Regions from separate parts of the Homo sapiens genome. Here regions 1, 2, 3, 5 and 6 are each linked to region 4. The links are contacts of gene promoters, found by promoter capture Hi-C in human tissues and cell types (Jung and others, 2019). All regions are on one chromosome and are shown on one strand. The core of a region is centred on a gene start or on the middle of the fragment in contact, and the rest is flanking DNA. Distances in the headings are between cores, read along the strand shown. Region 1 has its middle 100 kb from the start of LINC01734. Region 2 overlaps DHX35 (DEAH-box helicase 35). Region 3 has its middle 90 kb from the start of DHX35. Region 4 holds the start of MAFB (MAF bZIP transcription factor B). Region 5 overlaps LOC107985448 (a long non-coding RNA gene). Region 6 has its middle 350 kb from the start of LINC01734.

Evidence for each region. Contacts are between HindIII fragments. The study calls those that stand out against the background at their distance.
Region 1: a fragment that was not itself captured here is called in contact with the fragment with the promoter of MAFB in region 4 in 1 of the 25 tissues and cell types used here (dorsolateral prefrontal cortex).
Region 2: a contact is called between a fragment that was not itself captured here and the fragment with the promoter of MAFB in region 4, in 1 of the 25 tissues and cell types used here (dorsolateral prefrontal cortex).
Region 3: a contact is called between a fragment that was not itself captured here and the fragment with the promoter of MAFB in region 4, in 1 of the 25 tissues and cell types used here (dorsolateral prefrontal cortex).
Region 5: a fragment that was not itself captured here is called in contact with the fragment with the promoter of MAFB in region 4 in 1 of the 25 tissues and cell types used here (dorsolateral prefrontal cortex).
Region 6: a fragment that was not itself captured here is called in contact with the fragment with the promoter of MAFB in region 4 in 1 of the 25 tissues and cell types used here (heart left ventricle).

Annotation. Positions count from the first base shown.
Region 1 is chr20:39,118,900-39,123,956 of GRCh38, forward strand. No RefSeq gene overlaps it. Among named protein-coding and RNA genes, the nearest start is that of LINC01734, 100 kb to the right of the region's middle. The HindIII fragment of the contact is 3,681 bases long and covers 1,255-4,935 here.
Region 2 is chr20:38,965,002-38,969,609 of GRCh38, forward strand. It overlaps DHX35 (DEAH-box helicase 35), which reads left to right. Exons shown (of 22, transcript NM_021931.4): 2 at 4,080-4,213. Among named protein-coding and RNA genes, the nearest start is that of DHX35, 5.0 kb to the left of the region's middle. The HindIII fragment of the contact is 5,080 bases long and covers 1-4,608 here.
Region 3 is chr20:39,049,350-39,054,524 of GRCh38, forward strand. No RefSeq gene overlaps it. Among named protein-coding and RNA genes, the nearest start is that of DHX35, 90 kb to the left of the region's middle. The HindIII fragment of the contact is 5,314 bases long and covers 1-4,200 here.
Region 4 is chr20:40,686,596-40,691,719 of GRCh38, forward strand. MAFB (MAF bZIP transcription factor B) reads right to left here and starts at 2,641. Exons shown (of 1, transcript NM_005461.5): 1 at 1-2,641. The coding sequence starts at 2,255. The coding sequence ends at 1,284. RefSeq lists silencers at 2,504-2,573, 2,594-2,903 and enhancers at 2,854-3,831, 3,832-4,807. The HindIII fragment of the contact is 9,965 bases long and covers 1-5,124 here.
Region 5 is chr20:39,160,733-39,165,255 of GRCh38, forward strand. The region is part of intron 2 of LOC107985448 (a long non-coding RNA gene); the gene reads left to right. Among named protein-coding and RNA genes, the nearest start is that of LINC01734, 62 kb to the right of the region's middle. The HindIII fragment of the contact is 3,814 bases long and covers 240-4,053 here.
Region 6 is chr20:39,573,204-39,578,266 of GRCh38, forward strand. No RefSeq gene overlaps it. Among named protein-coding and RNA genes, the nearest start is that of LINC01734, 350 kb to the left of the region's middle. The HindIII fragment of the contact is 4,339 bases long and covers 1-3,423 here.

The DNA of each region.
Region 1 (5,057 bases), core at 1,845-4,344, 1.6 Mb before region 4:
AAGTAAACCATCTGTGCCCACATGAGGCTTCTGCCTGGTCATGCGTACTATCATCCTATCAGCCAGTGTGAGTCACGTGGCCAAGCAAAACATCCATGGGGGTAGAGACATAAGCTTCTCTCCCAGTGGGAGAGCAGTGCAAGCACTGCAAGTTACGTGGCAAAAGTTGAGATGTATAATCTTAGTATGGTGGAGTAAGAATTGAGACTGAAAACAGAATCTACCATATTTACCCAGAGGGGGTTGGAGGTTGAGGTATTGAGGTTAAACCTATGTTGTGTGCAAGTGAAGTTTTGTATTTATCTAGGAATGTCTGAAAGATGGCTGGGCTGAATCAGCAGGGGCTATTGAAATGAGGAACTGAGGATTCTTAGGAGAGTGAGCTCCTTTGGGGTAATAGAGAACTGGGCCAAGGAGCTTATCCAAATAACACAATCCCAGTCCTTGAAGAGAGGGGCATTTCTGAGTACTCCATGATGGAAGTCTCTGTTTTTTTTCCCTGTATGACCCCTATCCCCACCATTGACTCATGACTGGTCCCTGGGGAGAGTTGATTATTCCAATAAAACATTGCGAGATGTTGGGGCCTAAGCACCATTGCTATGAGTCCCTTCTGGGGGAATTAAACATGGAAGAGGGTTTTTTTTTTCCCCCCAAATCACAATTCTTCACCTTGGGGCTTTGAACCCCTGTGGCCCTAGACATCTGCAGTGACTGTGGCTGGCAGCGGGTAGGAGGTGGCATACTCAGTGGTGGCAGAAGCGGTGTCCAAGAGAAGCAATTGTACCAGGGGAAGCAATATTGGTGCCCACCTATCAGGAATGGCAGGGATCTGGACAGGTAGGGAGAGGCAAGATTGAGGAACAGGGAAGGGTGTCCTGCTTGGAGATGTGGCCTGTACCCTGGGCACACTCCAGGCTCAGCACACTCTCTAGCACATGCAGTGGTCCCAGCCATATTCAGGCTAAGGCATAATGCTTAGGCAGCCCTTCTATACTTCAGGAATGTGATGGGTTCATTTATTCCTATCAGGCCATGACAGGGTTTGCAAACAACCTTTTTAACACTGTTCCTTTGTTCATTAAGTATCAAGTACCTTCTCTGTGCTAGGTACTATGTAAGGGATGGTTGAATAGGAAACATTTTCTGCTTTGCAAAGCTCTTCCTCTTAGTGCAAAGTTGGGTAAACTATTTCCTGTGGGCCAAATATGACCCACCATCTGTTTTTGTAAATAAAGTTTTATTGGAATGCAGCCATGCTCATTTGTTTACATATTGTCTATAGCTATTTTAACACTATGATGGCAGCACTGAGTAGTTGTGACAGAGACTCTATGGCCCGTACTGCCTAAACTATTTACTATTGGCTTGTTGTAGAAAAAGTTTGCCAGTCTGTTGTCTAGTGGAAAAGAGAAACATAAACAGATGAACAGATAAATAGGCAATGACAATGTAGCGTGACAATACTGTGACAGAAGTAAGTGCTTGGCTTTGGTGGGAAGTAGGATCAGGGAAGGCTTCCTGGAGTAGGCAATGTCTATACCAAGACCTAAATAGTGAGTTCAGAAATTTTGGCAAAGGTGTGGGGAGAGATTGCCAACAGAGGAAAGCATGAACAGAGGCCAGAGGTAAGAGAGAACATGGGGTTTTGGGTGGTGGGAGCTGAGAGAAGAGGCTGGGAAGAGTGCTGGTAGCATGTTGGGCATCTCGTCGCCATTCAGGAAGGTGGCATCCATCAGCGGTGGGCTGTGCTTGGCACTGTGCTATTGATATGAATGTGTTCTCAATTCCTTCTAGGACTGGATTTTAATATTTCTACTTTACAGATGTGAAATGAACATGGCAATAAAGGAGCTGGAATTTCTGGAGGCAGGGATTTTCTGGATGGACGATTCACGTGTGTTTGCCACATCCTATGAGTGCTGGGATGGGTTGTGGTTAGAATGGTGGGGGTGTAGCCTGGCCTTGCCTCATTAACTTGTGGTCCCTGTGCTATGCATTTCAAGACTTGTTCCAGTCCCAGAGTGTCCTGTGCCCACACTCAGCCTCCTACTGGGGCCCCCACCTAAGACAGGGCTCCTTGAGTTGTGGGTTGAGCTCCATGTCTGGTTCTTCCTCCTTTTCCCATCAAACCTGTGCCTTTTGCTCTCAGGCTCCAACAGGACCTGCAAATCCACACTTGGGGCAAAGCTCCATGACTCAGGGCAGCTACCCTTTAATGCTTAGTGTGAGGCGCAAGCATCATCCTGCCCCTTCTTGTGCTCAGAGCAGACTTGCTAAGGGATCACCAAACCTTCCCATTGAATCCAGACACAGCCTCAGAATCCTGCTCAACACAGCCCTCCACTGATCACCCAGCATACTTGCCATCCTTTCCTTAACCCAGAGGGAAAGCTTGAGCTCACGCAGTACTTTCTGCACAAACCTAGTCACTGCTCGCAGGTAGCCAGCCTTTTTGTCAACTCTGATTTTGACCCGGGACTCAACACAATTCAACAAATGTTCACCGAGAATCCACTAAGTGTCAAGGAGCAGAGATGAATAAACATGGTCTCAATGCCCTAAGGAGCTCACATTCTGATGAGAGACGTTATTGACTTGAGCAACCACTGAAGTGGCAGCCTTTCTCTGCTTTTTCTCAGGGTTGTGCTGACCGCACGCCCTGCAGAACTGGACTCAGGCTTCCCCATCTGAGATGTGGCTATGCCTGGGTGGGGCTGCGTGGCTAGGACTTCTGCATCTCAGACCAGAGGGCAGAAGATGCAGATGAGGAGGGGGAGAGGACCCCACTGGAATGGCAGCAGCTCAAAGTAAAGGATGAGGTCAGGTTTGCACCAGGTTAGGATCAATGAACAGTGAGCCTGGCCTGAGCAGTGGGTACAGCACTAGGGTTTCTGGAATCTTCAGATAAGCTGGTACACTTTGGGACTCTGGCCACCCATTCTCTCCAGGCCCAGTGGGGGAAAGAGCTGACAAGCACAAAGCTACAGTATCAGGACCTCAGCCTCCAAAGCAGAAACAGAGCAAGAAGGAAACTGAGGCAGGGGAGTAGCCAGCCCGACTCCACAGCAGGATTGGGCACACATGCATCAGGAGTCGTGCAGATCACCAGGCTTAGGAAGACAGCAGCTCTAGGAGGCTTGAGGGCTGATTTTTCTGATCTACTGCACCCTGACCAGCACTGGTTTAGGGACGCTGGAGAGTGGGTTCTCCCCATGTTAGGACTCAGTGTGAGAGCTGCTTATGACTTTGCCAGGTTTTTTCTTTAGCCGCTGAGACATCTCTCCACCCCAGGATCTGGCAATCACATCAATCCCAAAAGGGGCACCTAAAGCCTTCAACTATTTGCCTTTCTATGGAGATTTCCAGAATCTACTCAGTTGATGCCATAAATAGGTAGAGAAGGGAGTGTGTGTGTGTCTGTCTCAGTCTATGAACACACACACACACACACACACACACACACACACACACGGAGTCAGACCTCCTTCATCAGAATCAGTTTGCAAACTTCATTTCCTTAGGATGAAGAGAAAAGAAAATTATTATTAACATATCAATGGCACCTCCATGCTGAGAACAAGATTACCCTCAGTACACACAAGCGCCCAGGGAAGCTCAGACACTGTATTTTAAATGTGCTCTGTTTCTGCATCTCCGTCTCCCCCACCCCACCCCCATTCCCTTCCTATTTTTTTTTTTTGTTCCTCTAAGCTTGTTTCTCTTGAAATTTCCACCTTGTGGTTGTGTACTGCTGACTTCACATTTGCTGTGGTGTGAACTCCACATCTGTGAATGGATGACAGGAAAGATTAATAGCCCTGCTCTCTTCTCCTTGACTGTGGGCCCAGCTAATGAATAAATAAATAAATAAATAAGCAGAGCTCCAATCCCCTAAATAGAGACCCAGAGCCAGGGAGAAAACAGCATTTCGCTGAATCCATTCTTTAAGGAAAAACCCAACCTCTAATGATCTCTGATTTACATAGTCGGCAGTTTTTCACTAAACATTTTACAAAGACACAAAAGTGTGGGGTGGAGGGATCGCTCCATGTTCTTTCCAGATGGAGGCAGGGGTCCCCCTGAGAAGCCCACAGGCCAAACAGGGCTGGTGCAGAGTGTGGGCTAGCTATGGAGGTGAGCCGGTTTCCCACTCAGGCCGCCTTAGGCCTGGGATCATTGAGTCGAGCGATGATGAAGAGGGAGGCAAAGGGACCCCTCAGGGGTCCCGGTAGTTGGTCCCCACACTTACCAGGTGGGAGGAAGGTGTGGGCTCACCAGGCAGCTCAGAAAGCCTACGAGTGTAAGGGGAGGGAGGCAGGGAGATAATTCATTTCCTCCTGCTTCCTTCATGCCTCCAGTTCTGGTGAAAGAGAAGCTCAGATATGCGCAGACAGAGCTTCTCAAACTTGAATGTGCCCTAATGACCTGGAGATCTGGTTGGAATGCAGATTCTGATCAGTGGGTATAGGGTGGGGCTGAGACTGGCCAATTCCATTAAGCCTGCAGGCGCTGCTGCTGCTGCTCCAGGGGTCACACTTAGAGTAGCAAGATGTTGCAGAGGCAGCAGAAAGTCAGGTTCTGCCCCCTCCTCTGTGGCCCTTGTCTGAGGCTTCACAACAGTCATCCCTTTCCTGCCAGCCCCAGAACTTGGCTGTTACCTGGTTTTCCAACCTCAGCTGACTCCATGGGTCTAATATCCCAAGGTACCTCAGCCAAATGCAGCATACACATCCTCTCTGGACCAGGCTTGGAGAATTTGGCTTTCCCTTGGCTGTGTTTGTAAAGTATGGTTGTTCCTACCTGGTCTCTGCATCTTTAATAAAGTCCATCATTGGATATGAAGATGCTGTGCCTGGGTGACCTGGTTGAGGGGCAGGTGGGCTCAGTGGCAGCAAAGACATCTGTAGGCTCTGATTGGGCTGAGCAAGAGCTAGGGGTCAAAGGCAGTGGATGCTGGAGGGGCAGCGAGGGGCTTCCCTGCACAGCCAGGAGTTTGAGGGGCCTGAAGGCACACACACCAGCCATCGATCTTAACCTGCTCACTTCTAGTACCC
Region 2 (4,608 bases), core at 936-3,435, 1.7 Mb before region 4:
ATAGTTGAATCACTTGGGAAGCTCTGAAAAGTCCTGATGTGCACTTGCACCTCACACCAATAAATTAGAACTTTGGAGGCCTAGGAGCCAGGCATCAGTGTTTTTTAAAGTCTCTAAGGAATTCCAGCATGCATCAAAATTTGGGAACCACTGGTCTAGGTAAATTGTGTTGTCATTAGTTGACATGGGAATAGCTTTAGTACACAGTTATTGGGCCGTTGCTTTGTGTTAGTCACTTTCATTTACACATCTTATTAAACAGTCACAGTATCTCTGTGATGACAGTAATACTCTTATTTTAGTGAGGAAATTCAAGATATGAAGTAGGTTGTGGGAAATGCAAGGTGAAAGTCAGGGAAGCTGATATAAGGCTAGACATTCAAATCATGAACATATCCTGTAGGCCTGAGCCTGTGATTACAGAGGTCTTTCAGACAGTCTAAGTGAGTGAAGTTGCTTACTGGAGGTAATAGGGAGTGGTGGGGACTGTGGCAGAGTGTGCATACACTGGATAGTATGTACAGTGGAGATCTACAGTAGAGCTTACATATGCTTTCTAAAATAGGGAGTTGTACTCAGGTCCACCTAATTGTTATCATATGGGTTCAGAGTTGCCCAATTTTTTTTTTAAGAAGCCTAATATCCAGATCTGAATGGGAAAATTTTATGTGTTGTTTTAAATGAATGATTTAAAACATTTTAACAATAGCATGTCTGGGTACCTTAAGATACCCATTTGTGGTGTCTACCTTAGGAGTGTGACTTAAGGGCCTTGTATGACCTGCCTGAGAGTTTTCTACAAAAATCTTTTACTTAATTTGCAAGTACACGTGGATCCGAAGGGCCTGCCCATTTTCGTTTGCTCATTTGATAAATATTTCATGATTGTTGACCATGTGCATGACGAAAACTTTACAATAGGTTTTAAGCTTTTTTTGACTTGACCCACAGTAAGATATAGCACACATACACAACTGAAGAAAAAGTTGTTCATAAACAGTATTGCTTTCTGGAATGTGCTCTGATGCTTTCTATTCTATTTCATTATTTAAAAAGTGCTGGTATGACATACTACATTGATTTCATAACCCACTAATGGGTCACCAGTAAAATTTTTAAAAACCAAGTTAAAGGGAATGAGGAATTAGGGATATCAGCCTTGTTAAGATAGGGAAATGAAGATGTTCATAGTTTGCAAAAGTTATAAAGTTGTTACTCCCTTAAGCATAGAGCGTACGCTCAAGGAAAAATCAATCATAGGCAGCCACAGAGGGGTGTTTATAGAGGGAAAGCAGCCCTGATGTTCTGGTTTGGTTGAAGGAAGTCTTTTATGAGGAGAAGGTATACTGTTTATCAACTGACATAGCTGTTCTTATAAAAGAGCTCAGCTGGGCGTGGTGGCTCATGCCTATAATCCTAGCACTTCGGGAGGTCGAGGTGGGTGGATCACCAGAGGTCAGAAGTTCGACACCAGCCTGGCTAACATGGTGTGACCCTGTCTCTACTAAAAATACAAAATGAGCTGGGTGCGGTGGTGCGTGCCTGTAATCCCAGCTACTCGGGATGCCCAGGCAGGAGAGTCGCTTGAACCTGGAAGGCGGAGGTTGCAGTGAGCTGGCATCTCGCCACTGCACTCCAGCCTGAGCAACAGAGACTCCATCTCCAAAAACAAAAGCTGATAATAGAAGAGATAGATTGGGGCTGTAGGTTAGAGACAAGGGAGGAATACGGTAGTACAAAAGACATGTTAAAATATTCCAGAGAGGATATGAAGGTTTAAAACATGATTTGAAAAGGCAGGAATTCAGGACAAAAACACAGCAGAAAAGGATAAGGTATTCTTTGTCATTGTTTTCTTGAGTAACAATTACAAGGAATTATTAAGATGTAGTGACAAGAAGGGAAGGAAAGAAAGCCTGTCTCTTTGAGGACAGGCATTGTTCCAGGTCCTGTTCCATCTTTTGTCTTGTTGAAAGGAAGGTCAACATTTTGGCAAAAGCAACATGACAGTGCCCCACTTACCTGATTTTTGGCCATCTTGAACCTCTGAAACACAACTCTGTTCCTGGAAGTAAATGGAAAAGGGTCAGAGATCTAAAGCAGTGATTCTAAACTTAGCTCTAGGGGGTCTACGGACCCCCCCGAATTTTATATTCTGGTAAATTCTGGTGTGTTTTTTAGGAGAGGGAGTTCATAGCCTTTATCAGATTGTTGAAGCAATCTGAGAACCCTAAAAAGTGTAAAAGTAAGTCACTGAGCTGAATATTCTTGTTACAAAGCTCCTGTGCTTTCACTTAGCATCACAGATTCTGAGTTCAGAAGACCTAGGAGATGATGGTTATTGGTTATTATCACTGTAGTGCCCCAGCAGGAGGCTGTATAGCATGTGTTTGATCTAGGGAGGATTTTTATTCATTTACAAGGCAGCAAACTCCAGTGCTGAAAAGTGTGACCTTTTGGAAATATCTTCCTTACATTGAGTTGAATTCTGAACCCTGTGTCATTTACTTATTACTCCTAGTTCTGTCCTAGAGTTACAGCAGCAAATCAGCATGAAAAGTTATGGAAGCTGCTCACAAAATTTAAAGTTATGTTTCTCCTGAGTTGTTTTTCTGTTTGAGCTAAAACTGTATGGAACCTTCAACAGGTTTTCATGATGGGATATGGCTTCCCTATTCTTCACCATCATGATCACCAGTTTGTCATTGTTATTAGCAAGAAGCCGGGGTGAAGATCTCTTGTTTAATCTGCCCAGCATGGCGGTTACTGAGAATAGCATTTCCCATCTATCCACTCCCGATTCCATGGTTCCAATGGGGACTGTCATTTACCTCATCCCATTCCACTGGCCATGGTTGATTGTATTGGGGTGGGGATTGGACCTAAGCTGGGAGAAGTCAGTCCCTGTCTGTCCAGTATAAAAGAGCCTCCCCCACCCCCCATTACAACACATACCTGGGACTCCCAGTCCCCCTTACGTTGTCTTTATTTCTCTCCATAGCACTTATGACCACTTCATGCACCAAGTTACTTTCCACTGAGAGGAAGAATTAAAAAAGCAAGTGAGCTCCGTGAGGGTAGGGCTGGCATCTGTATTGTTCACTGCAGTGTTTCTAGTGCTTAGAGTGGTACGTGACATGGAGTGGGCCCTTGGTCCATCCTTGCTGGTCCTTGCTGGACCACGATGAATGATTGGTAGAGGAGTTGTAAGCGTGAACCCTGGCACTGCCGGCAGCCGTCTTTCCAGCTCCTGTACAGTAGCCAACCTAAGGGGCTGGAAGGAACCTGCAAGACGTGCCAAGATGAGAGAAGGAGAAAGCCATGGCTGCTTTGAGTGCCCAGTTTCTGTCATCTCTGAGCCTTATTGCCATCCTACAGTAACAAGATTCATCCTTTTACCTCAGCTAATTCCCACTGGGTTTCTTTCACTTCTGTTAAGAATTCAGTAATAACATGGACATGGAGGCCAGAAGTAAAGACACTGTGCTCTGTAATACACAGTTCTGAGTGGCCAATTTGGAGCCCAGTGGGACTGCCATCTCGTTTCTTTTTTCTTTTTTTTTGGAGACAGAGTCTTGCTCTGTCGCCCAGGCTGGAGTGCAGGGGCCCGATCTTGGCTCACTGCAACCCCTGCCTCCTGGATTCAAGCAATTCTCCTGCCTCAGCCTCCCGAGTAGCTGGGACTACAGACACACACCGCCATGCACGCCTGGCTAATTTTTTGTATTTTAGTACAGGTGGGGTTTCACCTTGTTGCCCAGACTGGTCTCTAACCCCTGAGCTCAGGCAATCCGCCCGCCTCGGCCTCCCAAAGTGCTGGGATTACAGGCGTGAGCCACTGCACCTAACCCTGTCTTGTTTGTTTTTGACACTGCAGTGAAGCTTTTAGGGAAGATTTTTAGTTCCTCGTAGGCACTTTTCTGGATTCTTTCCTAAAGTTAAGGTTGAATACCTTTGAGTAGTTTGAGATAAAAAGTATTGCTTCTTCTGTATATCTTCATCTTTGAAAGTTTATAAACTTAACACCTTTTTCTGTTCATTGTATCAGAGAATCTGAAAAAAAAACATTTCTGCTGCAGGTACAGAGGGGCCAGGTGTAAGCATCTCTGAAGAGAGACAAAGTCTGGCTGAAAACTCTGGGACAACGGTTGTTTACAACCCTTATGCTGCCCTTTCCATAGAGCAGCAGAGGCAGAAGCTGCCGGTATTCAAGGTACGTCAAATAATCATGTTCAACCTGTGGGCTTGAATCGTGTGTCTGCATTAGCTTTATGCTCAGCACTGAAGGGAATGATGGCCTCTTTCTAGAACACAGTGAGCTCAGAGAAACCCTTACTGTAAGGGATGACTTTTCATACTGTGTATTTTTTAGTTAACCTTATAAATCTTGAAAGTCCTTAAGATTTTTTCAGTTGCATCGTACATACTGGAAAACTGGAGGAATTAGAATGACTTTTGTTTTCCCCTTTATTCCTTTCAGCTGTGGACAATTTCAGATATACAGAAAAGTAGAGAAAATAGCAGTTAATTTCTATATAACAGATTACCAACATATGGCCAATTTTTGCTTTATTTTTAAAGTCACTCCTTTAAACAAGTTTAATTGGG
Region 3 (5,175 bases), core at 294-2,793, 1.6 Mb before region 4:
CTGGGTCACTGTCAGCTGAGGCCCAGACATGCAGGAGTACAGACAAGCTGTCCCTCCTGTGCCCTGTCCCAATTCCTGACCTGGCTTCTGGAGCTTGGTTTGGAGATGGAGCCCACCTTGACAATGCTGTTTCCCTGGGAGAATGGGCCCCCTCTTGGCTGGCTTGCAGGAGCTCTGGGAGTCTCCTTCCCCTGTGACTCCTAGGGGCTTGGTGGCTCTGAGCTGGGCAGCTCCACATTCTCTCAATTTCATTCTGTCTGATCCATGTTAGTTTTATTTACTTTTTATGTATTTTTTATTTTTCTGACATAGAATCTCGATCTGTTGCCCAGGCTGGAGTGCAGTGGGGATCATGGCTCACTGTAACCTTCAACTCCTGGGCCCAAGGGATCGTCCAGCCTCTGCCTCCCAGAATCCATGTTCGTTTTAATATGAAAGCAACGTTTTATGCGACAACCAGGAGCTCTGAAGGGTTTTCACGTGGATGAGCCACACGCCGGGATTTGGAATTGCGGGAAGTGCCCAGCGAGTAGGGTAGGAGGAATGTTGGGGGTGGGACTGGACTAGAAGGGAGGCTGGGACGTCGTCGAGAACGAGATTGCAGGGACGCTGCGGTGGGAGAAGTCGAATTCCCACCCTGTTCGTCCTCCGCAAAGAGTGACTGAGGCTCAAAAAGCCACAGCCTTGCCCAAAACGGATGCAGCGGGCGCAGGCACGGTCCACACCCCGAAGCTTGCCGATGCCCTCGGCGGCAGCCCGTCCTGCAGAGCCGCGTTCCCTGCGCCCAAAGCAAGGTCGGACCCCCACCGGGATTCCCGGAACCGGGTGTCCCGCGCGTCCCCAGCGCAGGCAGAGACGGCGAGACTTCCGGGTCGGCGTTGCACACGGCGGCCGGCAGGCGGCGCTGGAGCCCCGCGTTTGGGCAGCCAGGACGCCCTTGCGCTGCTTCGGGTCCTGCGAGCGCCCAGGGAGGGGGTGAGTGCGGGGAGGGGTCAGACCCGTGTCTTGCCCGGTGCGAGCTCACCGCCTGCCCACCGGGCACGTCCACAGCAGCTCAGTCCCGGTCTGAGCGCATCGGAGTGAAAACAGCCCCCGCACCTCTCGTGACGGTGTCCCCTTCTCTGTCCACGTTGCAAGAAGCTATACTGTACTCACCAAGTCTTTAAATCTTGACCACTTCACCAAGGAAGGTATGAACCTCTCCATTTTACAGGCCCAGTTCAAAAAGCAACGACAAAAATCAACACCAGCAAACCTTTATGGAGTTCTAATTATTGACCTGGCCTGCCAGGGTCCTTCAGAGTGGAGTTGGGGTGGGTGCGGGAGAGGGGTCAAAAGCCAGCCCTCAGGAGGGGGCCACCCGCGCAGCCCTCTCTCCACCATCAGGGCTCTTGCAGACCCAAGGGCCTGCCAGGAGAAGCAGATGGGCCATGGTAAATCTGAGGGGCCATTGGGATGCCCAGACTGTCCCAGGTCACCCCATTTCTGCATTTTTGTTCATTTTGTTCAGGTGGCCCTGAATGTTGTGCCCTCCTCTTGGGAACTGTAAGTAATACAATCTTCCTTTCAGGCAGTTGACTCTGTGTCTGTCATCTTCCCATACCTGATTACAACAAAATCATCCCATGTACATTTTTAAACAACTGTCTAAGATTGTCGCAGGGCTCAAATGACTTAACTTTAAGTGCTTACAATGATGCCTGACACATGGTAAGGCTAATCGAGGAGTAGCTATTGTTACATCTCTTTCTCCAGCCTCTTCCTTCTTTGCACCAACTGCCTCCCTCTGAGCAATTTTGAGGGAGGTTTATCTCGAGGTGCAGCCAATCCCAGCTGCTAGGGCCAAGATCAGCCACGTGCTCCTTTCCCTTGGCCATGGCTTTGGACACTCCAAGCTGGCAGTGAGTGCCAGGTGAGGGGGCTGCTAGGAGCCGGCAGGGGGGATCTCACCTTTGTGCCACTTATGTCCCTAATCAGGGGCAACCTCCCCAAATCTGCACCCCCAAATCCCCTCCCCAGCTTGACTGGAGAAATCACTCTAACTCCCAATGATAGCAACTCCAAATCATAGCAATAATAATTTACTGAGTGCTTACAGTGAGCCAGACACAGTGCTAGCATCTTGTACCAGCAGTTCTCAAACTTTTTGGCTTCAGGAACCCTTTACACCCTAAGAATGATCAAGGCCCTCAAAGCTCTTGTTCATGTGGGTTGTATCTATCACTAATTACCATTTTAGGAGTCAAAACAAATTTTAATAATATTTATTTATAATTTATTTAAAATAGCAATAATAAACACTACATGTGAGCATAAATAATATATTCCTATGACAAATAACTATATTTCACAACACACAAAATTTAAAGAGAAGGAAGTGTGGCTTTGTTTTATATTTTTGCAGATCTCTATAATGTCAGCCTTAATAGAAGACAGTTTGATTTTTATATCTGCATCTGCAAGTTTTTGAGATACCACATGTCATGTAGCCCCTGTAATATTCCACTGGGAGTTTTAAAAAGCTTTCACTGAGAGCAAAAAACCCCCACAAATAACATGTTTGTATTATTGTCAACATTATTCTGAATTTTATGGACCATCTGAAAGGGTCTCAGAGACCCCAGAGGTGCCCATAATACACTGTGGAAACTGCTGCCTGATATACATGATGGGTAGCTTCCAATATTGCCCCATTTTTACATATGAGGAAACTGAGGCACAAGGAGATTAAAGTGACTTGTCCAAGGTCATGCAGCCAGGCATCAAAGCTAGCTGGGGAGTCACTTGATTTTGGTGTCCAGGGTCCCAGCACTGAGCCCTGAAAGAGAGGGTAGGAACTGGGCACAGAAAAAGCCGGAAGGGCAGGTTGGGCCATGAGTGGGGGAGCTGGGTGTGCAGTGAGGGGTGGGGGTGGGAGGGGACCGGGGGATCAGTTAGTCACCAAGTGGTCCTGGTGACAGGGCTGGAGATGGCAGCTGGCGGCGGATGTAGCCTCGGGCTGGAAAATCAATAGGTGATCAGCGGTCCAGGGGCAAGCTGTTCATCAGGTGCGGCAGAGGGGCAGGGGCAGGGGCGGGGGGGCTGGGAGGAAATATCACTGACCCCCGGCAGGATTGATCAAACAGCCAGACACCCAAGGCCAAACTCACTAATAAAGTGAGACATTCAGCTCAGCCCGGCGGCTGCTGCTGAAGGTCTTAAAAAAACCGCTTACTGGGGAGTTCTTGATAAACTGTCTTTGTTTCTTGAGGCAAGTGGGAGGGAGGACAGACTGTGGGGAGGCCTGGCTCGGCTGCCGTTTGGCCTGGGACTCATGGTTTGCCCCAGGTCTGGACCACAGAACCCTGGTGCTTGTATGGCATGTGTGCTTGCACTACAGCACATGCCATTTGTACAGGGCATGTGCAGACACATATGTGCACACTATGTCGCACACATTCAAATGTGCCTGCACATGTCTTTGCACGCCCGTGCACATGCTACAACCTACATTTGCTTATGGTATGTGTGCACACATATGCATGTGCTACAGCACATGTGTACAAATATGCCTTGCATGTGTGCATAGACATGCGTGCACCGCATCACATGGCATTTACACATGCATATGCTATGGCACATATGTGGGCACAAATGTGCCTTGCATGTGTGCGTATACGTGCATGTGCCGTAGCACACAGAATCTGCCTTTGAGGGGTGAGCATGTGTGCTTGGGGGTTAAACTCTTTCTCCATTGTTTCACTGATATCACCACTTTCTCTGCCTGTAGTCCCAAAGGTGCCACATTTGTAATGACAGTCATGATTATTATGGGGTGGGGAGATGGACGGAAAAGTAGGGACTGGAAAACTGTATCTAAAAGGCTAAGCTGTACAACAGAGAGAGGCAGGTGTGAACAGGAAGAAAGAGGGGGAGGAAAAGTGAAGGGCCGGCATGGTAAGGGCTAAACATCGTTTGGACTGGGAGTTGAGGGAGAGAAAATGGCAGGATTCGGGGGTGGCTGGGTAGCTGTTGGGGGAGCAAATTAAAGAATAAAGGATATGCAAATATAATTTTTATTTTTATTGATTTATTTTTTTTAAGACAGAGTCTCATTCTGTTCCCCAGGCTGGAGTGCAGTGGCGTGATCTCAGCTCACTGCAACCTCCACCTCCTGGGTTCAAGCAGTTTTCCTGTCTCAGCCTCCAGGGTGGCTGGGACTACAGTCTCATGCAGCCACGCCCGGCTAATTTTTATATTTTTAGTAGAGACAGGGTTTCACCATATTGCTCAGGCTGGTCTCGAACTCCTTTCCTCAGATGATCTACCCACCTCGGCCTCCCAAAGTGCTGGAATTACAGGCATGAGCCATCGTGCCCGGCTGCAAATAGAATTTTAAGAACTGTGTTGGGTAATGACATCCTTTGACATTCTTTCAGGAATCCAAGTAAAGAGTAGAACCTTTCCCGATCACTTTCTGATTGTTGGACTGTGTTTTGTTAAATGTGCTACCGTATTAGACTGGGCTTGTGCATACACAGAATTTATTTTGATTTAATAATTACATCACTCACATTGAGAATGAAATTTTATTGGAATGCTTTTGCAGATGAGAGGTTTTATTAAGAGCTTTTCCATGTGTCATATACTAACTCGAAGGTATGGATACTACTTTTATTTCCATTTTTTGGATGAATTCATTGGAGCTCAGAGGCTTAATCACTTGCTTAAGTCAGGTGGCTTATAGGAGGTGGAACTGGGATTTGAACCCAGCCCTCTGACTCCAGAGCCCAGGCTGCCTTGGCCATTATTCCAGAGTATAGTGGGGAATCTGGGGGGTCAGACAGGTAGACCAATGGAGGAACATTTGCCATCCCTGTATCTTGCCCCAAGATAGGTGAGTAGAGCCCTGAGGAGAGGGGCAGTGCATTTGGCTTGCACACCATTCAGACCCTTCACCCACCAGCAGTTACAGCCCATCTAGCCCCAAGATCCCTCCCCCAAGATCCCCTGGCTGGGAATCATCTGCTCTCTTGATTGCTGAAGGGTGCATGGATGCATTGGAAGGGGCTGGGAGGATATACCAGGCTCTGACTTTATGGTGTGTAGACCTTAAACCCCCAAAGCCTTTTTGGTTTTATAAAAGCACAGAACAAAGTCATTGAGAATGATCAAGGATCGAAACCATGGGAGAAA
Region 4 (5,124 bases), core at 1,391-3,890:
GGCCCAGAGGGTTCAGAAGGGACCTCAGGGTGATTCTGGTTACAATAAAAAGCAGAGGGGAGGATCTGTTTTCCTTTCCTTTCCTTTCTTATTAAGGGTATCAATTTGACCATAAGACAAGGCTGTAGTCCAGAACACTCCTCTGGGGTGCGGAGCTTGGCAGCTTCCCTGCCCTGCCCTGCCCTTGTACTGGGACCTCTCGGTTCTCTCTCTCAGCACCAACAAGGTTGAAAACTAAAGCGAGAGAGGAAAAAGAGGACCGAATGGGGATAAGGGAAGGAAAGAAAACATGCAACTTCCAAGTGTGCCCCAAGACAAAGTTGTTTTCTGATGCAAAATGCCCGGAACTTTTTCTTTTTTTTTTTCTTTTTAACTTACAAACAAAAATACCGTAATAATAAACCCAAACAAAGACCCTCAGCTTGCTGCCACGTTCTCTATGCGGTTTGGCGGGGCGGGTATTTACAAGCCTACAGCTGGGACTGAAACCCCGCACGCAGCCGCCGGAGTTTCCAAACTGCGATCCCTTCTCACCCAAAGAAACAAGGGGAGTATGATCCATGATCAACAACATGCTAAAGTTAAACAAGAAAATGGTACAAAATAGAAATTATTACCATACATGTCCAGCATGCAGGATTAATATTTTTAATGCAGATTTTTTGTATTTTTCTATATAATCGAGCAGGCAATAAAACTGATGAGATTTGGGCGCCGAGCGTCCTAACTGAGGCCTGTGTCTCAGGGCTGAGAGCCAGTGTTCTCCGAACTCTGACAGACAGGTCCGTCTGTCCTTCCTTCTTTCGCTCAGCCTCGCCTCTCGCCTGCCGGGACGCCAGAGTCCCTCTCCTTTCCTCGTTGCTCTCTTCCTGGCGCGGACTACTCTCCGGGCAGCAAAGCAGCTGTCCCGGCTTAACGCGCAAAGTTCAGAAAGCCAGGAGTCTCCAGATGGCCTTGGTGACTTCTCGGGACTATGCCTCGCCGCCCTTCAGCCTGGAGAGAAGTTACTCCGGGACCTCCCACCCTCTCGTCTCTCTCTCCGGCTCTGCTCGAGTCTAGGAGGCGGCGCTGGCGTGCGCTACTCTCGCCTTAGCCAAGGTCCCCTGCCCGCCCGCGCACCCGCCCGTCGCCCGCGGCCCGCGCGCCCTTCCTCCCTCTCGCTCAAGTCAAACAGGTCAAGGCTGGGGCCGCGGCAGGGACAGGGTCCGGGGTAGTCTGGGACTAGGGACGTGGGACAGGGAGTCCGGGCCGGGGCAAGGGCGGGGGCCAGGACCGGCCACGACTCACAGAAAGAACTCGGGAGAGGAGGGGCTGTCGCTGGTGGAGCCCGCCTCCCTGAAGCCGGAGTTGGCGAGTTTCTCGCACTTGACCTTGTAGGCGTCTCTCTCGCGGGCCAGCCGGGACACCTCCTGCTTAAGCTGCTCCACCTGCTGAATGAGCTGCGTCTTCTCATTCTCCAGGTGGTGCTTCTGCTGGACGCGTTTATACCTGCAAGACTGGGCGTAGCCCCGGTTCTTCAGGGTCCGCCGCTTCTGCTTCAGGCGGATCACCTCGTCCTTGGTGAAGCCCCGCAGGTGGCGGTTCAGCTCGCGCACGGACATGGACACGAGCTGGTCGTCGGAGAAGCGGTCCTCCACGCTGCCGTTGCCGCCCGCCGCCGTCGCCGAGGCCGTCGCGTGCGGCCCGGGCCCGGGGTGGCTAGTGGGCAGCTGTTGCGCCGGGCTAGCGGCGCTGGACGGCGGCGGCGACGCTTGGTGATGATGGTGATGGTGCGGGTGAGCGTGCGGGCCCAGCTCGTCGTGGGCCACGCCGGCGCCCGGGTACGCGTGGTGCGGGTGAGGGTGGTGGTGATGGTGGTGGTGGTGAGCGCCGCGAAAGCTGTCGAAGCTTTGCAGCGGCTGTGGCACTGGGTGCGAGCCGATGAGCGCTTCCACCGCGTCCTCGGGCGTCAGGTTGAGCGCCTCGGGGTTCATCTGCTGGTAGTTGCTCGCCATCCAGTACAGATCCTCGAGGTGTGTCTTCTGTTCGGTCGGGCTGAAGCTGGGCGACGAGGGCACGGAGCTACACGGAGTGCTGAGCGGTGTGGAGGACACCGAGCCGGCTGGCTGCAGGCGTGTGCAGGGCCTGCCCGGACGCTCCGCGCGCCCCAGTGGCTCCTTCTTCACGTCGAACTTGAGCAGGTCGAAGTCGTTGACATACTCCATGGCCAGCGGGCTGGTGGGCAGCTCTGGCCCCATGCTCAGCTCCGCGGCCATCGCTGAAGCGAGGCGCAGCCGCCGCTGCCGCCCGGGAAACTTTGCGGCCGGCCGGAGCGCGCCGAGCCAAGCGCGGGGGGGAAGAGCGGAGAAGAGCTGGGGAGGCGGGGAGCGAGGGCGCAGCGGGCCGGGGCCGCCGGCCAAGCCTTTGTCTGGGGACGCGGCGGCGCGCCGGAGAGTCCCGAGGCTGCCTGCACCGCCCCAGAGCTCTGGGCTGTGCCCGCGCAGGGACCGGGCCGGGTAGAGTCGGGCGGGGTGGAGAGGCAAGCGGAGCGCGCGGTGGGGCTGAGGGGAGGCGTGGGGCGAGTGCCCGTTGCTCGCTCTCTAGCTCTCTTGCTCTTACGCTCTCTCGCTCGCAGCCGCTCGCAGCTCGGCGGTGCAGCTGTGCTGGATCCGGCGGCGCCGCAGCCTTTTATCGCCTCCTGATGTCACTGGGGTGCGGGGGCCCGGGCGGCCCGGTGCGCGGGCCAATAGCTGCACGGCCTCCGCGGCCCAGCGGCGCAGGGCGGGGCGCGCCTGACAGCTCCCCCGCCCCCCGCGTCAGCTGACTGGCGGCCCGAGCGGCCCCGGAGCGGCGGAGGCCTGGCGGAGCGCTGGAGCGGAGTGGGACGGCCAGCCTGGGCCCACCCCCGTACCCTGCAGGTCCCGGCCCACGCACGCTCGCCTGGAGTGCGCGCCCCACCTCTAGGCCAAATCACCGCTTTCCCCTCCTCGCGCACTCTCCTCCCTCAGTTCCCTTTGCACCCCACCCCCATCCCGTGTCACCCCCAAGGAGGCTCAGAATGAGCGCCGGGACAACGCCTCCTGGGCCCTTTGTTCCCAAGCGGCCCCCGCCCAGTGGGCGACGCTCTGTGTGTCCTCGCGGCTTCTGGCCGTGTGTGTCGTGCGTTCCTGTTTCTGGAGATCTGCGCGTATTTGTATGTTGGGGAGGGCGGGCTCGAGGCTCCGAGAGTTGTGTTCAGACCCAACTCTTAACCTCAGGGGACCTTTCTCAGGCCAAGCGAGGGCCCCTCCTGGCGGGTGCAGTCGCAGAGCCCTGAGGTTCGACTCCACTGGCCCCGCCGCTCCCCGCGTTCACCCCACCGCACAATGTTCACAGTGAAGGCGACGGGAAAAGCAGCAGCCCAAAGGCTCTGAATTCCTCTTCCCCGCCACACGCACGGAATCCTGAGCCCCCGGAGCCTCGGGGCCGAGGCCGGCCCGGGACGGTGCTCCGAGTAGCTCTCCACTGCTGGGGAGCCGGCCCTGTTTTTGTTTGAACGTTTTGTAACGATTAAGCAGATCCCGGCGTCAGCCCGCCGCGGAGAGGCTCAAACAGGCATAAAGTGCGACCCCAAGTGGCCACTGTGCGCAAAGGCGCCGCGACCGCCCGGCCCACGGCCGGAAGGCTTGGACGGCGCCTCGTACCCAGCCAGGTCTCCCCTACCTGGCCCAACCCAAGCCAGCCCAGAACGCATACTATGTGTGCACCAGAGCCCAGGACAGGTTCCCCTCGAGCGATGTACAGGTCCTCGGGTCCCGTCTTCGTACTCAGCCGCGAGCCTCGAGCCGCGAGCTCCGCTCTGGTCGCCCCGTTGAAATTCCGTGCCCCAGCGTTCGGGGGTGCCCGTCGGCTGCTCCCTGGGCCGGAAGGTCCTGGGCGGAGGAAGGCCGGTAGCCAAAAGTGGAAGCGCCACAGTGAAGCGGCCCAGGGCCACCGGGTGAGAAACCTCCCCGGAGGGCAGACGGGGAGACCGAAGCACACCGCACTAGGCATCCAGACTGGGCTTGGGAGCCGCGCACCCTCCCTACCCAGATCCAGGATGGCTAGAATTAACGGGTTCTTTCTGAGACCTCGGCTCAGGCGCCGAAACCGGATAGATCGCGAATTCGCTGGACCCGGAGACCCGACCCGCCTCCCGCGTCACCTTCTTCTTTCTAGCTTTGGGCGCGCGCAGCGAAAGGCAGGAGAGGCGCGCACTGGGTGAGTGAGTCCCGGCCGCTGTCTGCGCTGGACCAGCCCGACTGACCTCGCGCGTAGGGGTCGCGTGAGCCACACCGGTGCAGACGCGCCTAGATTATTTTTAAATGTTAGAAGGTAAAATATTTGCCTCCAATTAATCTGAAAACTCTCTATTCTCTTGCGCCCTCGGAGAGGCTGGGGTACGGCGTGGTATTGGGCCGCCTATTTTTAATAAAATGAGTGTATTTTAACTAAAACTTAACTCAATCTTGTGGGGTGGCAAATTAAATGCTGGAAGAGCGCGTCTACAACCCTCTTCGAGAAGCGTGCTCTCCGCAGAAATGAGTCGGCCGCCTGGAGAGAGAGCCTGGGCGGTGCCGCTGCGCAGCCCCTGCCAGTAGCTGGGGGTTGGGGACTCGCACCTTGTAAATGTCCTCGTCTTGTTTGAACGCAGTGAGAGCACACTCGTTTCCAGATCACTCGGGACCGGGTGTCTCGGATCTGTGCAGACTATGTATGGCTCCGGCCTCAGGCGGCCAGGGCGGGACAAGCACGCCTGACTCTCTTGGTCCCGACTGGACTAGAGCTGGTAGCACCCTCCCTCAGGGTCCTAAGAGACCTGTGGCTCCCAGAGTGTTTCTGCCACTGTGGACTTCTGCGCGGGCACCAAGATGGACAGGCCAAGCTGTGACCCACTCCACCCCCGCCCATACGTCCCCTCGGCTCTGCCTGACACTGGCCGTCGAAGACTTCCGTGGCCCATTAAGGCCCTGGGGATTCCTGAGGCCCCAGGTCTGCGGTTCCGAACCTCCTCTTCTCCTGCGGGCGGCCTGCCTCCGACTCAGGGTCTCTTGGACTCGGGCTTTGGGCAACCGCGCTCTTCTTTGTCCCTGTGCCTCTGTCTCTGTTGTGGTCACTCCCTTCGCC
Region 5 (4,523 bases), core at 897-3,396, 1.5 Mb before region 4:
GAACATGCTTATCCAGATTCACCTGGTAGTGAGTGATGAGTTATCAACCTTCTAAATCACCACAGGTATGACCACTTTCCCCCCATCACCAGAGTCCTAACAAGAAGGCTGTATGCCCCGTGCTGGGTGAGCTCCTGTCATTCCCAGGCTTTGCACAGGTGGTGGGCTTTCAGAAAGCAAACATCCCTGCTTTCCAGAAGCTTAGTGTAAGATTTTCTATATATAAGACTGTGTCATCTGCAAACAGGTATAATTTTACTTCTTCCTTTCAGAAAAAGCTTTTGACTAAATTCAAGTTTGGATGCCTTTATTTTTCTTGCCTCATTGCTCTGGCTAGGACTTCTGATGCTATGTTGAATAGAAGTGGTGAGAGTGGGTATCCTTGTCTTTTTCCTGATCTTAGAGGAAGAGTTTTTAGTTTTTCAACATTGTGCAATGTTAGCTGTGGGTTTGTCTTATAGGGCCTTTATTATGTTGGCGCAAATTCCTTTTATACCTACTTTGTTGAAAATTTTAAGGGTATGAATTTTGAATTTAGTCAAAAGCTTTTTCTGCCTTTATTGAGGTGATCATGTCATATTAGTTCTTTATTAATGTGGTATATCACATTAATTGATTTTCTTATATTGAACCATCCCTGGGATAAATCCCATTTGGTTATGGTGTATGAACTTAATGTATTGTTGCATTTGGTTTCCTTGTGTTTTGTTGAGAATTTTTGCATCTACATTCATCAGGGATATTGGCCTATAATTTTCTTTTTGGTAGTGTTCTCATCTGGTTTTGGTATCAGGGTAATGATGGCCTTGTAAAATGAGTTTGGAAGTGTTCCTTCCTCTTCAGTTTTTTTGAAGAGTTTGAGAAGGATTCGTGTTAGTTCTCCTTTAAATATTTGGTTGAATTAACCAGTGAAGCCATCTGGTCCTGGGTTTTCTCTATTGGGAGATTTTTTGATTACTGATTCAATGTCCTCATTTGTTATTGGTCTCTTAGGTTTTCTATTTTTTAATGATTCAGGCTTGGTAGGTTATATGTTTCTAGAAATTTATGAATTCTAGGTTATTCCATTTATTAGCATGTAATTGTTCATAGTAGTCTTTTACAGTCCTTTTTATGTCTGTGGCATCAGTTTTAATGGCTCCTCTTTTACTTCTGATTTTGAGTCTTTTCTCTTTTTTCTTAGTGTAGATAAAGGTTTTTCAATTTTTATCTTTTCAAGAACTGAACTCTTAGTTTTGTTGACTTTATTGTTTTTTGATTCTCTATTTAAAAAAATTTTGCTCTAACAATAAAGGCCATATACAACTGATGTGGTTTGTCTGTGTCCCCACCCAAATCTCATCTTGAATTGTAGTTAACATAATTCCTACATATTGTGGGAGGGACCCAGTGGGAGGTAATTGAATCACTGGGGTGGTTACCCCCATGCTGCTATTCTCATGATAGTGAGTGAGTTCTTATGACATCTGATGATTTTATAAGGGGCTTCTTCCTCTTTGCTGGGCACGTCTCTTTCTTGCCATCATGTGAAGAAGGATGTGTTTGTTTCCCTTTCTGCCATGATTGTAAGTTTCCTGAGGCCTCCCCAGCCATGTGGAGCTGTGAGTCAGTTAAATCTCTCTCCTTTATGCATTACCCAGTCTCAGCAGTTCTTTGTAGCAGCATGAGAACAGACTAATACAACAACAAACCCACAGTTAACATCACATAATGCTGAAAAACTGAAAGCTTTTTCTCTAAGATTAGAACAAGACAAAGATACCCACCTTTACTACTTCTGTTCAAGACAGTGCTGGAAATCTTAGCTAGAGCAATTAGGCAAGAAATAAAAAATAAAAGGCATTCAAATCACAAAGGGAGAAATAAAATTATCTCTGTTTATAGATGACATGATCTTATATGTAGAAAACCCTAAAAATTCCACAAAAAACCTGTTAGAAGTAATAAACAAATTCAATAAAGTTTTAGGGTGAAAAATCAACATAAAAAATCAATTACATTTCTGTACTCTCACAAGGAACTATCTGAAAAGGAAATTAAGAAAATAATCCCATTTACAATAGTATCAGCAAGAAAAAAATACTAAGTAATAGACTTAACCAAGGAGGTAAAAGACTTGTACACTGATAACTATAAAACATCAGTGAAAGAAATAAAACAAGACACAAATAAATGAAAAGACATCCCATATTCATACATTGAAAGACTTATTAAAAATGTTCATACTGCCCAAGGTGGTCTGTGGATTCAATGCTATCCTCATCAAAATCCCAAGGGCATTCCTTTTTTTTTTTTCTTGTTTTTTTGTTTTTTTTGTTTTTCTTTTTAAACAGCAGTAGAAAAAACAACTCTGCCTCTTTGGTGCAGGTTTCTGCAATGTACAGTTGATGAGTCCTTCCTCTGTAGAAAGGCAGTGTGGTGTAGCAGGCAGAACACAATGATTTTGGAGTCAGCAAGATCATCACTTTTATGCCTTGGCCACACTCAACAGTAGTGTTGGGCGAGGTTTATCACCTCTCTGACCCTCAGTCTCATTTGGGTTAATGCCAAATGAGTCAATAAATTATATAGGATAGTTTCCAACATATAACAGGCTCTCAATAAATATAGGTTGTAAATTACTACAGAAACTCGGAAGCTACATCTCAAAGCCATACACATTAGGGAGGGCTTTATCTTTACCCCAGCAAATCTTGGGCATGCACGTCTTCCAGACCAGGGATCTACACATGGGTGAGCAAGGCAGCTTTAACCACTCTGCAGCTAAAGGGACCTTTTGGAGCACTGTTTTGGGGTTGCATGTGGCAGGGAGGACATTAACATTGGACATGGTTCAGTGAGAACTTGGGCTGGTCAAATATTATGATCATTATTATGGTACAAGGGCTACATGGAATGGCCAGATGATTTTGTCCTTGGAAACCATGGGACTTGGGCAGAGAGGATGCTTCTTTCAGGCTCCAGCCATGACAGTTGTCCCAAATCATAACAGAAGGAAGGATTTAGGCCCCATGAATTGGATTAAACTTTTACAATATCCTATAACCTTTGCTATCGTCGCCACGACTGATGTCACCATAACAACAACGATAACCACCCCCTCCCCAATATAAGTTTCATAATGATTTGTTCATTGCAAAATCACCAATGCCTACAGGAGTTCCTGGCATAGTTGTAAATATTACTGTTTATAATAACCATTACCACTGTTAAAGTTAGTAGCAGCTAACATTTAAAAAATGCATGTGTTCATCATCTCATTTAATTTTCACAACAATCTTATGATTTAGGCTGGGGTTCACAATCTACAACCTGTAGACCAAATCCAGCCTGTGGCTTATTTTGTAAGGTCTGCAAGCTAACAATGCTTTTTCTCATTTTAAAACAGTTGTAAACAAAATGAAGAAGATTATGAAACAGAGCATCTGGCCCACAAAGCCTAGAATATGTATTATCTGGCTGTTTGCCAATCCCTGATATGGAGTATTTGCCAGAGTAGGCTAGTGATATAGTTTGAATATGTGTCCCCACCAAATCTAATGTTGAATGGTAATCCCCAACATTGGAGATGGGGCCTGGTGAGAGATGTTTGGATCATGGGTATGGATCCCTCATGAATAGTTTGGGTCATCCCTTTCGTGATAAATGAGCTCTTGCTCTGAGCTCATACGAGATCTGGTCGTTTAAAAGTGTGTGATACCTACACCCTTGCACCTCTTTCTCTTGCTTTGGCTTTTGCCATGTGATGTGGCTGCTGCTCCTTTGCTTTCTGCCATGATTATAAGCTTCCTCATGTCTCCCCAGAAGCTAACACCATGGTTCCTGTAAAGCCTGTAGAACTGTGAGCCAATTAAACCTCTTTTCTTTATAAATTGTCCAGTCTCAGGTATTTCTTTATAGCAATGCCAAAACAGCCAAACACATGTAGTGTATGCTGCCATAACAAACAATGAACTGAATGGCTTAGCCTAACAAAGGTTTATCTCTTGCTGACTCAATGTCAGCTGTGGGTCTGTGCAGCCCTCCAGCGCAGTCACCTTCCAGATGATCAGCCATCCAGGCTATTTTTATTCTGCAGCTCTGATATCTTAGCATGAGACCTCTTGGTTATTGTGGCAGGGGAAGAGAGAGGTTGGAGAGCCTTCTGGGAACTTTTTAGTGTGTCATTCAGATGTGACAGCTGTTACTTGCACACGTGTTTCATTAACCAGAACTTGTCACATGGCCCAGCCTAACTAACTATGAGGGGTTAAGAAATGTGAAGGAGCACCTGGAATGAGATGAGGAAGCTGAGTTTCTGAGAGGTAAATCCTTTGCTCAAGCTTACACAACAAGGAAAAGGCAGAACAAAGACACGTATCAGGCAAGTACAATTTCCAAAGTCCGTGATCTTATCTATTACATTCTCCTTTTCTTATGAGCTCCTTGTTCCAGCAACAAACCGCATTAAACATTTCGTTACTTTGGAGTGGCTCAGACAGAATGTTCCTATGGTTGCTGACACATCTCCCAGAGAAGTCTTC
Region 6 (5,063 bases), core at 4-2,503, 1.1 Mb before region 4:
GGACAGTGGACTCCATCATACAAAATGGGGAAGGTTAAGGAGGCTTGGCCTGGGATCTAGCCCTTCAAGGTTTTCTCTGCCACTCTGGGAGAATAGAGTGATCCTTAGGTTTGCTTATCCAGGCTTTGATATCTAACAGTGCACTGTGGGATTGGAGAGATTAGCAGTCAATATTCAGGTGGCAGGCTTAATGAACTACTGTTTCACTCTAAGGAGGGCTCTGGTCCTCAGTGGGAGATGCAGACGGCAAAGAAGCAGCCCCTGAAAGTGAGGGTTTGGGTGGGACTGCAGTGGAAAGAGGTGGAGAATACCTGCCAGACAGGAGTAACACAGTGCTCCTGAGCAGTCAGCTCTGGTAACGTAACTCAGTTACATCATGAGTTATGTATGGATGTCATTCAGTTCAGACCATGGAGTGGAGGTCAAGGGTATGAAATTTGGGATCAAATAGACCTGAGCTTGAGGCCCAACATGGCTCATACTTGTCCTATGAGCTTGTTTATTTTGAAGATTAAAAGAGAGAATTTGCTTAAAGCATGCAATACAATGCTTACCAAATAGCACACATTCAGTAAGTGCACTTATTATTAGAGTGAATAATAATGGTAATAAAAATATTAAGGATGATGAAGTCACTTTGTTTCTGAGAGTGTATCTGATTTGTAGACTATCCGTTTGATAGCTCTTCCTTCCTTAGGAAAGTTAGTTAAGTCATGATTCAGTTCCTTCCTAATGAAAGTTAGTTCAGTACAACCTGAAGCATGTAAAATTTCCACGCAGAGTGTTGGTGTGCCTGTTCCAATGATGTCGCCACTGCATGCAACATTCATATAATGACCTCAAGTGACAAAAAAAATCCATTATTTTTTTCTTCCAGAGAATGAAGGGAACACTAGGTCATTGTTACATGGCAACAGCTACTTCTCAAACACCTTGTTCAGGAAATACCTTGTTCCAAATACATGCTGCAAGGCTGAGAAGGACTCTTGCAACTGGGCACAGGGGTACAAACACCACCTCATTTCCCAAGGACAGCTCCGCTCTTCAATGAGGCCATTCATCCTGGCCCTACACAATTACTGTCGCTTACACAAACAGTTATGGAGCATTCAAATGACAAATGCTAGGCAGCCATCCAAGTCACATTTCTGAAAAATATTTTTATTACAGGAAAATGCTCATGATGTAGCATTAAAAAGGGGGAGGAAAGCAGGAAACCAATCAAAAGCAGCAGAGAAAATAACTAGTATAGATCCCTGAGTTAAACTCAGCCTCCTTTCTCTCACCTCCAGGCTGGCCTCAGGAAAATACCAGACAGAAATCAAAAGGAGACAAAGATCTAACTAACTTCATATGCATCAACAGGCAATACTGGTCTTTACTGTGATGGTTCCTTTTGGATACCAAGGCGGGAGTTTTGCTAATCATGGGAAAAGTTCCTAAAATTCCCTTCTCAATAGCCTTCTCCTAAAGTCCAAACCCTCCAGTAGCTGGCCAAATTTTTGCTCTCCTCTCTCTCTTTTTGCCTCCAAAATATTCTCATTCCTGAGTTTTTTTGTTCATGCTACTATCCATTCTCTGTCTAACCTCCTCCATCTTCCTCACCTCTATTTTTTTCTTCTTTTGGTTATCTCTATGTGTAAGTCAGGACATGAGAAAATGAACATTTGAGCCACAAAGCCTGGGTTTGAAGCCTGCCTCTGAAATTGCCTAGCTGGATAATCTTGGGTGAATTTCTTAATCTCTCTGTGCCTCAGTTCCAACCTGTATAATGGGGATGATAACACTAACACACAGTCTCTTGGGGTGCTTTTCATGATTAAGTAAGTGAGTTTATATGAATTACCTAGAACATTGTTTGGCTTAAGAACTGAATAAATGTTCAGCACTATCATCATCATCATCATCATGTGGATTAATTGACCTTCCCTCCAGCTTCTTCAAGCTTTTTCTCCACCCATTATAATGGCTTTTCTCCCAAAAAAAAGGGGAGGAAGGATTTGCAAATAATTCTTACTTAACATATATTTAAACCCTGTCATATTATTCAAAAAAATGCCTGCATGGAAATGAATCTGTGTTAAGCAGAATAATGGTCCCCCAAAGATGTCCATGTCTTATATCAGGAAGCTTTGAATATGTTACCTTACATGGCAAAAGAGTCTTGGCATAGATGGTGAATTTAAGGATCTACAGTTGGGGAGGTTATCCTGTGGCCCAGTGTAATCACAGGGGTCCTTATAAGTGAAAGAGGGAAGTAGGAGATTCAGACAAGGAAACAGAGATCTAGTGCTGTCATTGCTGAAAGGGGCCACAAGCCAAGGGATGTGGGCAGCCTCTAGAAGTTGGAAAAGGCCAAGAACAGGTCTTCCCCTGGAGCCTCCAGAAGGAATGCAACCCTGCTAACACCTTGACTTTAGCCACATAAGACCCATTTTTAGACTTCTTACCTCTAGAAATATAAGATAAATTGCTGTATGGTAATTTGTTACAGCAGTAATAAGAAATCAGTAAAGTGTCAAAACTATAGCTAAAAATATTATGTATACAAAGATAGATTTCTGAGAAGTTTTCCTTTTCTTTTTATTTGAACTGTCTCTGTCTTCTAAAATAAGAAGGCAAATGCTAGGCTAAGAAATGATAAATTACAGATGCCTGACACATGCCAGGACTGTTGTTATGCTGCTATAGAAAGAACCCAAGCATGTGGATTTGGAGTTACTACAAATGCATGGTCATTACCCATCACTGAGCTTAACCATGGTTCCTGGCTGTTACACCAACTCCACCATCCACTTAAGCAGATGGATGGTGGAGACTTCTCCATCTGCTTAAGTTCTTTTTACCGATGCATTGCAAACTTTACTGTGTATATAAAGAATGTGGGGATCTTGTTAAAATGCAGATTCTCTCAATATCATTAGACATCGGGAAAATGCAAACTGAAATCTCAAACAGGTACCACCATATACCACTGGAATAACTAAGATGAAAATGACTAGCAAGTCACCAATAACACCAAGTATTATTGAGAATGTGGTTCAACTTGACCTCATGTATATTACTAGTGGGAATATAGAATGTATTTGGAAAACTGTTTGGCAGTTTCTTAAATAGTTAAACATATATATAGCATGAGATCCAGCCATCCCACTCCCAGATGTGTACCCAAAAGAAATGAAATATGTCCTCACAAAAACCCAATTATGAATATTCAGGCTGGGCGCGGTGGCTCATGCCTGTAATCCTAGCACTTTGGGTGGCCAAAGAGGGCGCATTATTTGAGGTCAGGGGTTCGAGACCAGCCTGACCAACATAGTGAAACCCCGTCTCTACTAAAAATACAAAAATTAGCCAGGCATGGTGGTGGGCACCTGTAGTCCCAGCTACTCTGGAGGCTGAGGCAGGAGAATCACTGGAATCCAGGAGGCGGAAGTTACAGTGAGCTGAGATTGCACAACTGCTCTCCAGCCTGGGCAACAGAGCAAGACTTCATCTCAAAAAATAAAAAAGAAAAAAGAATATCTGCAGCAGCTTTATTCATAGTAGTTAAAATCTAGAAACAATGCAAACAGCTATAAACTGGTGAATGCAGAAACAGAAGGTAGCACTCACACACAGTGAACCATTACTCAGCAACGGAAAGGAGCTACTGACATACCCAACAACACGGGTGAATCTCAGAAGCATTATTCTGAGTCAAAGAAGCCAGACCCAAAGACAGCATACTATATGATTCCATTTATAGAAAATGTAAGCTAATCTCTAGTGACACAAAACAAATTAGTCATTTCCTGGGGCTGGGGCAGAGGGAAGGAGTGAATGTGAAGAGGAGCGAGGGATCTTTGGGAGCGATTGAGCTTTTCCGTGTTTTGATGGCCATGGTGGTTTAATGGGTATAGATGACTATCAAACTTCATCAGATTTTACACTTTAAATGGATGTGGTTTATTATATATAGATTATTCCTCAGTTAAGTAGATAAAGAAAAAATAAAGCAGATTCTGATTTATAGCTCTGGGCTGGGCAGGCAAGTTAACATTTCTAGCAATTCCTCAGTTGCTGCCGATGTACTGGGTCCCAAAGGCTCCAGAATATCTTCTCTTCACCTTTTGCACTTGCAGGAGACACATTTGTGTCCAATTTTGCTAAGAAAATCAAGGACTTGGGTAAGGAAATCCCTTGAATGTCTTTTCCCTACCCCCTATGAATATAAATCCACTTGTGCAACAATTTGAATATATGCAAGAAAAAATACTTCAAAAGGTACTTCTGCTTTAATTGTAGCCTTACCAATGCCACCATTCACCTTTTAATGATGACCTTGGCCTGAGCTTTAAATTGAAGCACGTGTGATTAGCAACCAAAAATTGCATTGGGATTATAGTACTTTCACTCTAAGTCTTTGAGCAAATTTCTAGGCTTTGCTTAAAACATCCATTTTCAGGCATGATTAGAAGACAATTAAAATAGAGGGGTAACAGAAACAATAAAATTAATACTTTTTGACCCATGAGGGATTAGAAATAGTTCAAGACAAAAGCAGAAAGGATATTGGCCACCTCGTGCCCTTGCTTAGTGATATTCATCTGCCATTGGACAAACCTGGGTTTCTCTGTAAGATGTAAGGTATCCATATGTAAAAGAATCCCTTGACATTGGTACAAATCCTTCGCAAATCTTCACATACTTAAAAAGCACTCTGTGAAGAACAAAGCTTTGTTGAGAAGCTGTTTCTAGGCAGTCTTCAATGCTGTCTCTCTAGTGACAGAATTTGTTTCAATTGGAGTCCATGTGCAATCCACGCCCATGTCTCAATAAAATAATCAATTAAAATAATTTGGGGTCTTTAGAATAATGGTAATTGAAATGATGGGTGCTGTATAAATTCCAAATTCCTTGTGTACTGGCCAAAACAAAATAAAACGAACAAACAGAAACACTAGAGAAAGCGATGGGTATGGCTATGGTAGCTATAATGTTTTGTAGATTTTATTAACTGTCTATGCTTTCAATATCTCTAAGATACCATTCAAGCATTGAGAAGGGAGCTTTAATTGCTG